Linked DNA regions of Homo sapiens: region 2 is linked to region 1. The links are contacts of gene promoters, found by promoter capture Hi-C in blood cells and fetal thymus (Javierre and others, 2016). All regions are on one chromosome and are shown on one strand. The core of a region is centred on a gene start or on the middle of the fragment in contact, and the rest is flanking DNA. Distances in the headings are between cores, read along the strand shown.

Region 1 (6,657 bases), core at 798-3,297:
AAGACGTATATAATTCACTGCATCTAGCACAGGGCTAAACCCAGTGGTTGCTCCGCAAATATTTGTTGAAAGATGTTCAAAAAAGCCTTATTTATATTATCAAACTCCACAAACAATATAAATATGCAAAAATGGGGAAACCATTGCAAAATCATCCATATGAAGAAATATTACATAGCTATAAAAATATCTAGAAAAGCTTTTTAATGATCCAGAGGAATAAATGCTTATACTGATGTTAGGCAAAATCAGCAGGATTCAAATTGCTACTATAATATGTCAATTATAAAAATCATATGCACATACAGAAGACAAAATCTATGAGTATCTCTGGAATCTGTGGGATTTGGGGTTATTTTTAGTTCTTTCTACTTTTCTGTACTTTTGAATTGTTTATACTTGGAATGAGAGAAATAGCCCAAAGTAAACGTTGTGGAAGATTTACTTGGGGGAAGAAATACTTTTCAGGGGTCCAAGCTAATTACACTGTACTGGTGTGGCCCACTTGGTCTATTATAGAGGAGGAAAGTGGGGAAGAGATGGGGCCTGTCCAATAAGGATGGATGTCCTGACAGTAGAGGATGGACTTTTAAAAACTGCTACAGCGGCTGGGTGCGGTAGCTCACGGCTGTAATCCTAGCACTTTGGGAGGCTGAGGTGGGCAGATCACGAGGTCAGGAGTTCGAGACCGGCCTGACCAACATGGTGAAACACCGTCTCTACTAAAAATACAAAAATTAGCTGGGCGTGGTGGCGCGCGCCTGTAATCCCAGCTACTCAGGAGGCTGAGGCAGCAGAATCGCTTGAACCGGGAGCAGAGGTTGCAGTGAGCAGAGATGGCGCCACTGCACTGCAGCCTGGGCGACAGAGCGAGGCTCCATCTCAAAAAAACAAAACAGAAACAAAACAAAACAAAACAAAACAAAAAACCTGCTACAGGAGTGGGGAGGCCGACCTTTGAAGAAAAACGGAGTACCCGGTAACATTAGTGCTTTAATGCCTTTGAACTTATGCAGACTTCCTCTGTTAGAGGGTTTCAGTGTTCTAGGCTAATGGGTTAACCTGACATCTAGAACACCTTTCTCACATTAGTTCCTTACATACCCAAGCCTTCAGGTGCTGAGACATGATTCTTTTCACCCCGCTTTCTCCACCCCCTACTTTTGAAAACACGGGTGGAATTTTAATTAAAGCCTATTGTGTTGGTACCTCAGTAATATTATACATTAATATCTTTAAGAATTAAGGTCACGTCCCCATGTAAGAAAATATTATTTAATGACGCTTCTATATCATAATACCTATATAAAAGCCTGGCTATTTTAATAAAGAGACCACAGATTTCAGAATTTATAAACAGGAAAACATTTTCTTCGGGTTATTTCTGGAAATCTCTTCCAAACATCGGAGTTTTCTTCTAACTTAAGTCTCTTCCCACCTCCTTCCCAGGGGATCTGCTGAAGGGTGTTGTATGTCTCTCTGTGGGAGAGCAAACTTCACAGTTAGGATAAAACAAACAAACAAACAATATCCAAACAACACCCAGCAACGGCAACCCCCATCCCTCTCCAAAGTTCTAATTTCCCGCACTTAAAGTCCTGGGCTATCCTTGTGTTGCAAGGATCTTAGAATCGAAATGGAGGGATTTGACAACTTTACCTAACCAAATCTAAAATTTTGCTTTTATTATTTACTAGTTATCAAAATATGCAAACTGCTGATTAAGGAAGGCTGGGTAGCAGGAGCGCCTGCGAAGGCGTAGGGTAGAAGTGTGAAAAGAAATCCCAGCTCTCCCAGGGAGACTGCGTGTGAAAGAGCCCGGCTCCCCCAAAAGCTCCAGGCCGCGTTTTGCAGGCTTCCGCATCTGCCTCCCCTGTCTCTCTTACCTCCTTGATGTTCGGCACTATTTGTGGCCGGCGTGGTGGAAGGACACAGTGAGGTTCTCACCCCCGCCCCCCGCTCCTCGCTCCCATCCCAGTTCCATCAAAACGAACCCGGGCCAGCGCAAGGATCTCCGAGTTGCGAGTGTGCTGAGGCTGGGACTGTCACTCATTCTCCGATCAGCGCGTGAACGCAGCTCGGCTGCCGCTGGCAGGAAACAATTCTGCAAAAATAATCATACTCAGCCTGGCAATTGTCTGCCCCTAGGTCTGTCGCTCAGCCGCCGTCCACACTCGCTGCAGGGGGGGGGGCACAGAATTTACCGCGGCAAGAACATCCCTCCCAGCCAGCAGATTACAATGCTGCAAACTAAGGATCTCATCTGGACTTTGTTTTTCCTGGGAACTGCAGGTACATTTTTTTTTTTTTTAATTCTCAATCTGGTTTGCTAATTACCCCTTCCTCCTACTCCTAGGAGGAACGCTATTATTTTGGGTGGTTTTACGTGGACTGCTAAGGCTGGTCATTTTCGTTTAGCTGTGAAAGGAGCGCGTCGCCCTTGCTGCCCAGCCGAACCCCGCTCCCTCCAGGGCTGCGCTGCACGGGGCTGCCTCCCCGAGCCGCCAGCGCCCGGCGCCCCTCCGGCGCGTCCGCCCTTCCCACTTTGTGCGCCCGCGGCGGTGGGAGCAGAGCCGGCCGGCTCCTGGGGACTCAGCGGCCGCGCTGGTGATGGGCAGCGCTCCTTCCCCAAAGGCGGGCGGCGGGGCGGGGGAGGTCGCGGCTCGGGTGGTGCCGCCGCACGGGCTCGGATTCCGAGGGGGAAGTGGCTTGTCAGCCCCGGCTCCGGGAAGAGTGAACAATAAGGCTAGGGCAGCCGCCCCAGATCGTTATATTCCTGGGTCTAATAAAGTCAGGATCGCTGCTTTGCTTCCCCCGCCCCAGAAGAATAACGGTTTGCAAAATGGGGCAAAATGGGCAGAATCGCACGGCCGTTGTTGTTGGTGTGACCGTTGTTGCACCCCAGTCGACATGACGTTAGTTTTTCATTTGCCAAATTGCTGGTTAGTTGCAAAGCCTACCCTCGGCCGCGAGCACTGAAGGATGGGAGGGTCGAGCGCCGCGTTTTGACAGGAGGAAGTGCGGAGGGGCGGAGGGCGAGGAGGGCGTGATTGGGGCTGCCTGGTGTGTGCGCGCGCGTGTGCGCGCGTGTGTCTTTACACGCGCCGCGTGCCCAGTGTTGCACGGGGCGGGAGAAGAATGGCAGGTAGCCGCCCGAAACACCTCGCCCTGTCTCCTTTCTTTGGGCGAGGTTCCCGATCCTGGCAAAGTGTGAACAATAGGGAGCTGGGAGGAAGACAGTAGTGATGCTGCCGCGGGTGGCGGGGGTTGCGCCGCCGCCCAGAGAACCTCGGCAGTGTGCAGGGAGGTGCATTTCATTTTGGCTATTTCCATCCCGGCCTCCCTGGAAAATTCTTCTGTGCGTGCCCACCCTCCCCTCCAGCTGTCATCCCCCCACCTCCACCCAAGGATTTGCGCTTTGGCTCTGATGGACGGGAGGGAAGGAAGAAAAGCAGGGGCCGCAGAGAGCTGGGTGGGTTGGGCGGACATTCTGGGCGGGGGGCGTGTGCTGGGAAGCGATCGAGGAAAGCCGGGCGGAGGGGCTGTGTGTCGCGGTCGCAGCTCCAGGTACCGTTGTACCTGCCCTGGACGGCCGACCCCCGGTTGGGGAGCGCACGGGGCGGGCCAGGGAGCACCCAGTGCGCCCCCTCCGCGGGCGGCACAAGAGCAGCGCTCGGCCGCCGCCTCCAGCCAACTCGGGTCCCTCCCACGGCGACCAATCAGTGCGAAGCTGGCTGGGCGGGAAGCCGCGAGAGGCTTTTATTGCGGCGCGGGTGGCGGCCAGGAGCTGCCAGGACAGTCTCCCGGTGCTTCAGCCTAACGGTCTCGCTCACTCACCGCCAAGAGAAACCCCGCCCTGCGGCCGGTCCCCCGCCTGCCCGGCAGTTTCCGAGGAAATAAAATGGAGACTAGGTGGTCACCGGGAGTGCTCCTGGTCCGGCCGCCCGTGCTCGCCCACTCTCGCCTCTTTCACGCCGACTTGGAGCATCCCACCGCCCCCGCCAGCGCTCACTCTCGCGCCGCGGAATCCGGGCCTGAGCGCGTCGCCGGGGAGGGCATCCTGGCAGGCACACCTACGCGCGTGCGCTGACCGGCCGACCGCGGGCCGGGGGCTCTACTGACGGCGGGGCGGGGCCGTGGCAGGGCCCGGAGAGGAGGGGTGGGGACCAAGCCTAGTCCGCCTGGCCCTGGGTCTCCGCTGCCACCTGGGCGGGGGCCACCCCGGTTATGCCCCTTTCCGCGGTGCCCGTGGGTGCCGCGACGCGACCTGTCCACATGGGGCGGGGGAAGGGGGGTGTTTTTGAGACATCCTCGCCCCCGGGTGGGAGCGTGACAATGGAGCCCGGATATTTGGTGGGCCTTTTGGGGGATCGCCTGGCGGTCCTTTCCATCATCGTGATGGGTACAGTCATCAGTATTTGGATCCCGTGGAAGTTGCAGGCCCAGGAATTCCCACTGGGATGTTCCTGGATGCCCAGGCAGGGGAGGCATTCTAACCAGTGTTCCCTGGAATGAAAGCGACCTCTTTCCTGGCCCGGTACCTTGAGGATGGGAAGAAGGCAGAACGTGAAACACATACAAGGTTGCTTAACAAAAGAAAGAAGTTGAATGGTTTTCCAAAGAGAAATAATTTCCCATTAAAATGTCTTTTGTACCATAGTTTTTTTTTAAAAAAATCAAAGAATTCAAGTCAAAGGGTTAGAATGAAAATGAAAACATAACAACAAGTATATATACATATGTATATATATCTGAGGTTTTTTTTTTGTTTTTTTTTTTTTTGTTTTTTTTTTGGACTCAAATGTAGCATGTCCAGGGCAGTGGTAACTGAGTTTGTGTGCTCGGCTGGGTGCATATGAAAATTTACATATAAGGCAAGCTAACCTTAATACGTCAAGTGAGTCCGATGGGCTGCCCCTCTCCTCTTTCTGTGTCCTCTGCTCTTTAGAAATACAATGAAAGGTTGTGCAATTGCATAGTAAATTTGAGTTTATTCTAGTATAAATTTTGGATGTTTTGAAGAATTGTTCGCTTGAACGATCTGGAATGGTTAAGTCACATGTTTACTTGATAATTTTGCAGTCTTCTGCCAGTTAAACTTGCAAGAGTCAAGGAATGGATAGGACTGGGTTTCTAACAAGATACCATCGGTTAAGAACAAAGAGCTACTTTACAAAAGCTAACATTGAAATCAAGTAGTATATATAATATCTCTCACTAAGCAAATTAAGGTGCGCTTCCACAAAGTTGACTGTGAGCACAGTTATAGTGAGCCATATATTTTTGTTGATTTTCATTTGAAGACTGAGAATGTGTGTTTTTAAACAGAATTTCACTGAATGTAATAAAGGCTATATAAGAATGTGGAAAACCTTTCACAACTCTAACCAAACCCTAGAAAGATTATTTTCTTTCAATAAATACTAGCATATTTAGAAATATTAATAACTGATAATTTGTTTTAAATCCAACAGAGTTATTAAAAACAGGGAATATAATCCAGACATTGTAGACGTGTGGGCTATGATTTATGTAAGTTTTTGAGTTACTATTCCCTCTATAAAGGTCTTAAAGATCTGCTAACCTAGCTAAGCTTCCATTAGTCTTTAACTGTTTTCTTAAGTTAATGCTTTATGAACGCCCTCTTTCTTTCCCTAAATTGTTGAACCTGATAACTTCCTTCCAGATACCTTTATCTAGGATTTTTTTTTTAAAAATGGAATACCAGAAAATAGCAGGACATATTCTTGTTTAGTAAAGGAGTTTCCTCTAAGTCTTACAATGATAATTGATTAAACTAAGAATATGTTGATTTAACTGGTGACTGGTTTCTTGAGTTTGATAGTTCAAGAATTAAGATAGTAATTGCAAAGAAAAAAAAATCCCACATCAAAACTGAAAAAAAAATGATGTGGGTGTGCTATTTGTAAGGGATGTGGGTGTTTACTGAAGGCAGCAATAAGAAGGAGAAATTAGTCTGTAGCACCCCCAAATTCCAAGTTTTGAACAGTGCTTCTGTTTGGAATCCATTTATCATTAATTGAATTCCTCAGATAGGTAATATGTAATTTAATGGAAGTAACCTATATCTGTATTTTTCTGTCACAAGGAACAATGTCTTAATTGCCTTTCAAAGTAAACAGCACCATTTTGTCACTCAAAAGCTAATCTTTAGACATGTTTTTGTTCACTACAGAACCCAGTTTCTCAAATTATAGAGAGCATTTTGTAAAATTTACACTGCTTAAATAATGGACTCTGGAATTTCTGATGCAACCACTTAATTTTTCAAGGTGATGAAGCCTCTGTTAAGTATGAGTTTGATAAATTTCTCATAATTTTGTCTTTAGTATTAAAGAACTGTGGCTGCTCTCCAGACTGAAAGTGGCTTCAATACTACTGGCAGGCTTCCAAAGACATTTTACAGACAGTCCTTTCTGACTTAGTGTAAAATAAGTGATTGAGTACCTGTTGCTAAAGAACGGGTTGCACTTTTAGGATCTTGAGCTTGTGATGGAGAGCAGAACCAATTGGCAGGCCAGGGAGAGAAGGGATCGCACCTGCCCCCGTCAGTCTGCGGGAAGAATCATAGACTAGGAGGAGACAAAGACATCTTATAAAGGCTCTCCTGCACCAGTTCAGCATTGCTTTTTTGAG
Region 2 (6,565 bases), core at 3,123-5,622, 320 kb after region 1:
CACCTGAGCAGAGATTTTGCGTAGGCTAAAGTTTGAGAGGTCCAGACTGGAGATTCACGTAGGAGCTGTCCACATAGTGCTTGTACTTCAAACTCTGGGACTTGGTGATCACCATGTGATATCTCCAAGTATATATATTAAAGAGAGAAAAGAACTAAGCAGGGGACCTGGGAAGGAAAATGCACAGGCAGCTCCGTCTCAAGGAGAATTGTCAGAAATTCCTACTACACCATTTGCAGCCTCACCTTGGAGGACAAGGTCAGGAGAGGCAGTGACTTGGTATCTCCTTTCCAGGGTGGCCTCCTCTTCCCAATCCCTTAAGAGAACTTGTGTCTACCTGTCCTGTTGCCTGGAAGGCATGGGTATACTCTGGAGTCTAGAAAATAAATTTGTCTTGTAGCTAGAAAAAGATTTCCTGGGATCCTTGTTGCCCTGGGTGTTTCCATGATCACCGCGACTCTGTCGAGTGTCCCCCATTGCTTTCCAGACCCTCATACCCCCTTCATCTGATTTAACCCTGGTGCTACTGGGGCAGACAGAGTAGGGTGCCTCTGAGTGTTGGGGTGGAGAGTCACGCTAACATTACCAGTGAAAGCAAGACACCTACGCATCCCTCCAGGTGAAGGTCTCATATAAGCTGAGCTTGGATGGTAGAAGCTAGATGAAGGGAGGCTGCATTAGATTGTACCTGATGGCCTCCAATCCACTGCCCTCACTCTGGACAGAATGACCTGTGCAGAATGGGCATCTCATCCCATCTCTGGCTGCCCCCATTAAGATCTTCAATGGCTTCTAAAGACCCTCAGGAGAGAATGCAAGCTTTTTATCAAGACTAACACAACCCATCTTGGTCAGGTCTTGCTTACTCCTCCAGCCCCAGTTCTAGCACTCCTAAAACTTCTACATATGCTCCAGCCCTGCTGAACTACTTGTGGGTACTAAAATGATCCACATTCTCTCCCACCTCCCTGAGCTCACGCGAATTATGTTTCATTTTGCTTCCATGCCTGGAATTGTTAAACATGTTTGGCTATATTTTAAAGATGAACACCATTTACAGTAGCTTTAATGGCATTCTCTAAGCAGAGCTCAGTTGCCTGGGTCCAGGCTAGATCATGGTAAATGAAGCACAGGCATTTCCTCTGACCAGAGACCCAGGGAGGGATGGGGCCTCTCATGTTCCTGACACATTTTCGTGGAGCTATATGTGCTGTCATCTCAGAGGGTAAGTCAGGGGTTGCTGGCTGAGCACTGGAACTCTTGGGAATGGGGTCACATGGTCTTGAGAGGAGCAGGATGATGGTCGTGGGATGTGGGACCAGTAGTGGTGGCAGCAGAGATTCTTAGGGAGACAAGGCTAGAGCTTGGCATGCTATTCAGGAAAATGTTCTCCCAGGCAGGGCAACACATGTCCAGTACTTTGCATGATGCTGTTGATTCACTGAATATTCCTGGAAGCTTGTAGAAGCTCCGTGGAGTGTGGCAGCATGCACCTCTGTGCTAGGCAATCACCATGGAGTAGCTTCTATGCAGAACTAAGCATTAGGGTTTATTTATTTTTGCCATCTCCCTACCAATATGACTTGTTCTCAAATAATGCTAAGGAAAGAAAGGTAGGGTGAGAACATGGCTGCTTTCCCTATTAGATGTGGTCATGTAATAAAAGATTCTGAGGGATGGAAAACTGGTAGAGGTACATCCAGGCAGAGAAAGCTCAGTTCCATTCCTCTCCTCCCTCCTAAATTATTCTGCCAGGTTCTGGGATTCCCATAAGACGATCAACAAACTTCTCTATGCTTTCACCTTCCCTGTCAATGTGTTTGCATCACCTTTCCTTACTTGGTTCTCCTCTTCTCCAGACACTGATTCCTGGACACTGCTACTTATTCTGCACCCTGAGTGCCCTAGGATCTGGGCACAGGGGCTGTGTCTTACTTGCCCCTTATTGTCACCTCCAGACTATCATTCCCTCACTTTGTTGTCAGGCCGATGTTCCACCAAGGATCATGCCATTGAGTCCCCTAGGCTGCCAATGCCAAGTGCAGAATCCTGAATATGCACTTACTCGTGAAGACTTTAATCTTTAGCCCATGATCCTCCTCTCTCCTGAAGGTCCACCATCATCCTCAGTGACTTCAGTACATTATATGGGCAATTCCTCCAACACAAAGGCCCCTCAGTTTGACCTCCTCATCTCCAATGACCTTCCTCTTCACTCCACGTAAGCCACTTTTGCTCTTGGTCAAACTCTGGGCTGATCATGCCATTCACCTAAGTCAGAGTCCAGAGTCCAGATTCCCCACTCTCCAACACTCCCTTGGATCCATCTAGCTCACTCACCCAACTAGTTTCATACATCAGTTCTTTGTCATTGCCTAGTTATTGACTCCTAGATTTTCCTCTATTTGCCACATCCTCCCTTCACCTCCGTCCATATCCAGCCTCAATTCCCAGGTCTAGCATGGCAGCCACACAGTCAATGATATCAGAAACTTCCTTGCCTTGATGCTCTCACATTGCCTCTGTCTTGTAGAACTCTAGCCCTGGAAAATCTCCTGGCTGCCACCTCTTTAGTTACACCTGGTCAGCTGGATGCTATTTGAGAAAAACCACATGACCAGGCTCATTATTAGCAATATTGAAGGTCACTCTCAACAAGGTCCTCAGCACTGCCTGGCAGTCCTACTGACATTTGTCAGCAACTCATTCAGTTCTCCTCTACAAAAATGTCTTCACTTTTCCAAACCAATTCATTCCTCCACCACCTCTTTCATCTCAGCTACCAGTCTTGCTTCCTTCCTGTAAAAGAAAAGAGGAGCCATCAGAAAGGAACGACCTCCATTCCCAACACCAAATCTACACACCTACCTGCGTTCAGGTCGCCCCTTCCTCCTCTGCCCCTGTTATAACAGAAGCAGTATCTCTCCCTTTCTACAGCAATCCCTTTCCCTGGGCCCTGGCCTTTGTGTTCTACTTCAATGGGGTCTTTCTCATCCATTCAATATCCCTTCCAATGTTTATTGAGCACCTGCCAAGGCCAAAGCTGTTCTAGGTGCTGAGGAAAGAAAGATCACCCTCATAGATCCTACGTTCTAAATAACTATATACAATAAGCCAATGATGACAAGTGCTGCAAAGAGACAGGCACATATGAGGCAAAGAGGTAACTCATGAGGAGGAGCTGCCATTTTACATGGGACAATTAGGGAAGACTTCTCTGAGGAGGTGGCATTTAAGCCAAGACCTAAGATCATGAGGGAGCTTGTGTTCCAAGTACTTAAAGACCTTCTCTGCTGGCTACTTCTCTTCAAACGTGTGGTAGGTAAGACTCTCAATAAATATGAAGTGCATGCTTTTTCTACTATTGAACTTAACTTCTCCTTCAATCTGTCATTCTATGCAGTGGTAGAAATTTAATCTCCATCAAATTAGGGTCTATCTCATCCTCAACCCTCTTAATGTTGCCGATGAGATGCCTTAATGACCTCTCCAAGCCCATCTCACACTATTCTCTCTTCACATGCTACATGCCATATATAGTGAAATGATGGTATTTTCTTGGCTATGCCATGTGCTTTCTCATCTCTGTGTTTCCACAGGTGCAAACACTTCTTGTTTTCTCTGGAAGTCTCTCTAGCACCCGCCAATGCCTGCAACGAATCCTTGACTTTTACTCCATCGTTAGGTCTTAGTTCAGATATCTGAGTTCAAAGGCTCAGGTATGCCTTTCCTGACACCTGATCCAGCTTGCATTCTGCTGTTTTATGTTCTGTTGAGGGCCAATTATACAGCTGGCCCGTGCTGGTTTGGTCATATCAGGTTATTAAAATATTGCAATGCTTCTTTGCTGTTAAAAGTAGCTGCTGTCACCCCAGCCCCTCACAAAGGAATTTGTAGGTGGCTCTACCTGGCCCAGAGAGGATCTCCAGGGCTTTGCTCCAACACTATGGCTGGTGTTCACAGAATAGAGTCTGTAAATATTTTTAACATATCCTAAGACCTCATGCTTTGTTTAGTCTCTGATTTGTTTCTCTTTCTCACTGATCTCTGAACTCCTCCAGGGCAAGTTCTGTGTCTGTCTTCATTACTACTTTATCCCGGCACCACATACAGCACCTGCTACAAAGCCAGAACTTGATATTTGTCAGTCTCATGAATGACAGAGTGAATGAGTGCATGAGTGAAATGATTACACGTGCATACCAGCCATGGTTACCTGCCCATGTTCATCTGTGTGTGCGCAAACAGGGCCTACAGCTGGCCAAGAAGATGCCTTTGACAGCCACACAGCAGTGCCCACTGTCCAGTACCCTGGAGGAAGTCCACACCTCTACCCACAAGGCTCACATGTGCCTAGAGAGGTTCTCTGCTCTGCCTGCCCAGCCCCTGGTCATGGGTCACCACCTCCTCCTTCCTCCAGGCTGGTGGCAATGTCCAGTCAGTGAGCAGCACCTTCACGATGGGGAAGAGCTGGGAAGACTTGAGTTAGAGGACCTTGAAAGGCAGGATTATTGTTATTGGGTCTACCTGCGTGTCCCAAAGCTGTGGTTATCTGAGGCCCAAGGCTGACCATGCAAAGCCTTGGAGCCTCCTTGCTTGGAGTCTCCTCCCTAAGGGGGAAAACCTCTGGGTTGAGAGACTGAGAAAGAGCAAAGAGGAGGCCAAGTGTGATCTGGGAAGGGTCTACTGGTCCCCAGGTCTAGGTGTCAGTGACCAGGGAGAGCATTGTGCTGTTTCTCCTTCCTGAAACTGAGCTTCCAACCCCAGCTCAAAACATGATAACCCACAGGGGTCTGTTTAGAGTGCTTCCCATGGGGATGGTCATACACAGGCTGTTGGAAAGGTGGCTGTGAGCATGAGGAAGTAGGCTTGGAAGATCGCTCACACCAACAGGTGTTGGATCTTCCCTAGGGAGCCTCAGTTTGGAGCGCAGGAATCTAGCCCACAAGCCCTGCTGTAGTCCATGTCCTGATGCTGAAGGAGGAAAGAAAGCCCGTCCTCTGAGACATGGAGAGGGTCTGTCATGGGCAGACCCAGGCTGGGATGCAGCAGCAACTCTCCTCCCCACCACACTTGGCCAAGCTCCTCCATCATCCCCTACATCACCCTTCTGAGTCTCCCGAGGCACTGTTTAAACTGCACATTCATGGACTCCAGCCCCAGAGATCCATACCTTGGCTATGGCATGGGACCTGGAAGCCATACCACAAGTGTGATGACTTGGGTCTGGGGCAGGAAGATTCCATTGCATGTGGTCCTTAGACCGCACATAGAGAAACTGGCAGGTGTGCGGCTGGGGAACATCTCCACCATGAAACGCCTGGCCTGAGGTCCTAGCACCATCCAACTGAGGCTGGGGAAACTCTTTCAGGAGTTTCTGCGGTTCCATGTAGACAGACAGGAAATGCTGTAGACACAGCCATGTGTCTGGATGTTGGCAAGACAATTCCCAAAACCCAGCACACTTCACCACACATGCTGGACGGCAGTTAGCACCCCAAAGGAGCTCAGCTCAGCTGTGTGGGGAAACAGCAGCTGAGATGATGTAATGCCACAGGGACAGATGGAAACTCCTGCACACTCTCAAAAAATCCAACCACGAAAAGTGCACGCTGAAGACAATGGGGCTCAGCAACAGAGAATATTTGAAATAGAAAAATAAAAGACTGGGGTCTAAATGGACTATAAACTCAATATGAGAGATGATGCATTGCAGATGGTCAAAAATACTTGTGATACTGAAACTGACAGTTTGATTTATTTATGTGTAACACTTCTATAACACTACGTCTGGCCATGCTTTAAGCACTCCACAAATATTTATTCATTTAGCACTTAGAACAATTCTGAGTAGATACTATTATTAACCCCATCTTACAGATGAAGAAACCGTGGCAAGAGAGGTTCGATCATTTGCTGAGAGTCACACAGCTAGGAAGAGGCAGAGACAGGATTAGAACCCAGTCATGAAGTCTCCATAGGGAGCAATGTATAAGCCAGCATTGGTGTGGTGTAGCCCTGCTGTGGTGCTCTGCCCTGCTGTGGTGTAGCCTCCAGGTCCCATGCTATACCCAAGGAGAAGTGATGGCCAGGGGGCCCGTCCAGGGCAGAAGCACTGGAGGCTGAAGGAACTCATAGCCATGTCTGATGAGGAGCATGTAGAGGAGTTGAGTATGTTGAGCTTGGGGAAGAAACCGTGAAAGCAGATGGGAGGGTGGGAGGAAAAACATACACTTTGAACAGCTGTCTTCATGTATACAAAGACTGTTGTTTAGAAAAGAGGGTGGACTTAATATTTAATACTCCTGAGGGCTCAAGTAGAACAAACATTGTAGGGAAGTCTGTTTTATACACACGAAAAACAGACCATTCTGTTTCTTGGAGTGGCTCTAAAAGTGGACAGTCAGTGCCCTTAAGCAGAGGCCAGGCAGCCGCTCTTCAGGCCTGGGGAGAGGAGACTGAGGCATCAATGCACAGACGACCCTGTTCAGATTCTAGATGGCTTTGATAGCAACAGCCCTGATCTCCCACCGAGACCTGGACCACTGAAGGCAGAGGAAGCAAA

Evidence for each region. Contacts are between HindIII fragments. The CHiCAGO score rates a contact against its expected background, and 5 or more counts as called.
Region 2: a fragment that was not itself captured here is called in contact with the fragment with the promoter of NCAM1 in region 1 in 1 of 17 cell types (M1 macrophages); the score reaches 5.6 in M1 macrophages.

What each region holds. Positions count from the first base shown.
Region 1 is chr11:112,959,373-112,966,029 of GRCh38, forward strand. It overlaps NCAM1 (neural cell adhesion molecule 1), which reads left to right and starts at 2,048. Exons shown (of 20, transcript NM_181351.5): 1 at 2,048-2,292. The coding sequence starts at 2,241. NCAM1-AS2 (NCAM1 antisense RNA 2) reads right to left here and starts at 4,088. Exons shown (of 3, transcript NR_120563.1): 1 at 3,838-4,088; 2 at 1,995-2,104; 3 at 1-1,479. RefSeq lists an enhancer at 1,991-2,768. The HindIII fragment of the contact is 5,394 bases long and covers 198-5,591 here.
Region 2 is chr11:113,281,792-113,288,356 of GRCh38, forward strand. It overlaps TTC12-DT (TTC12 divergent transcript), which reads right to left. Exons shown (of 5, transcript NR_199709.1): 2 at 246-2,799. Among named protein-coding and RNA genes, the nearest start is that of NCAM1-AS1, 11 kb to the left of the region's middle. The HindIII fragment of the contact is 5,832 bases long and covers 1,457-6,565 here.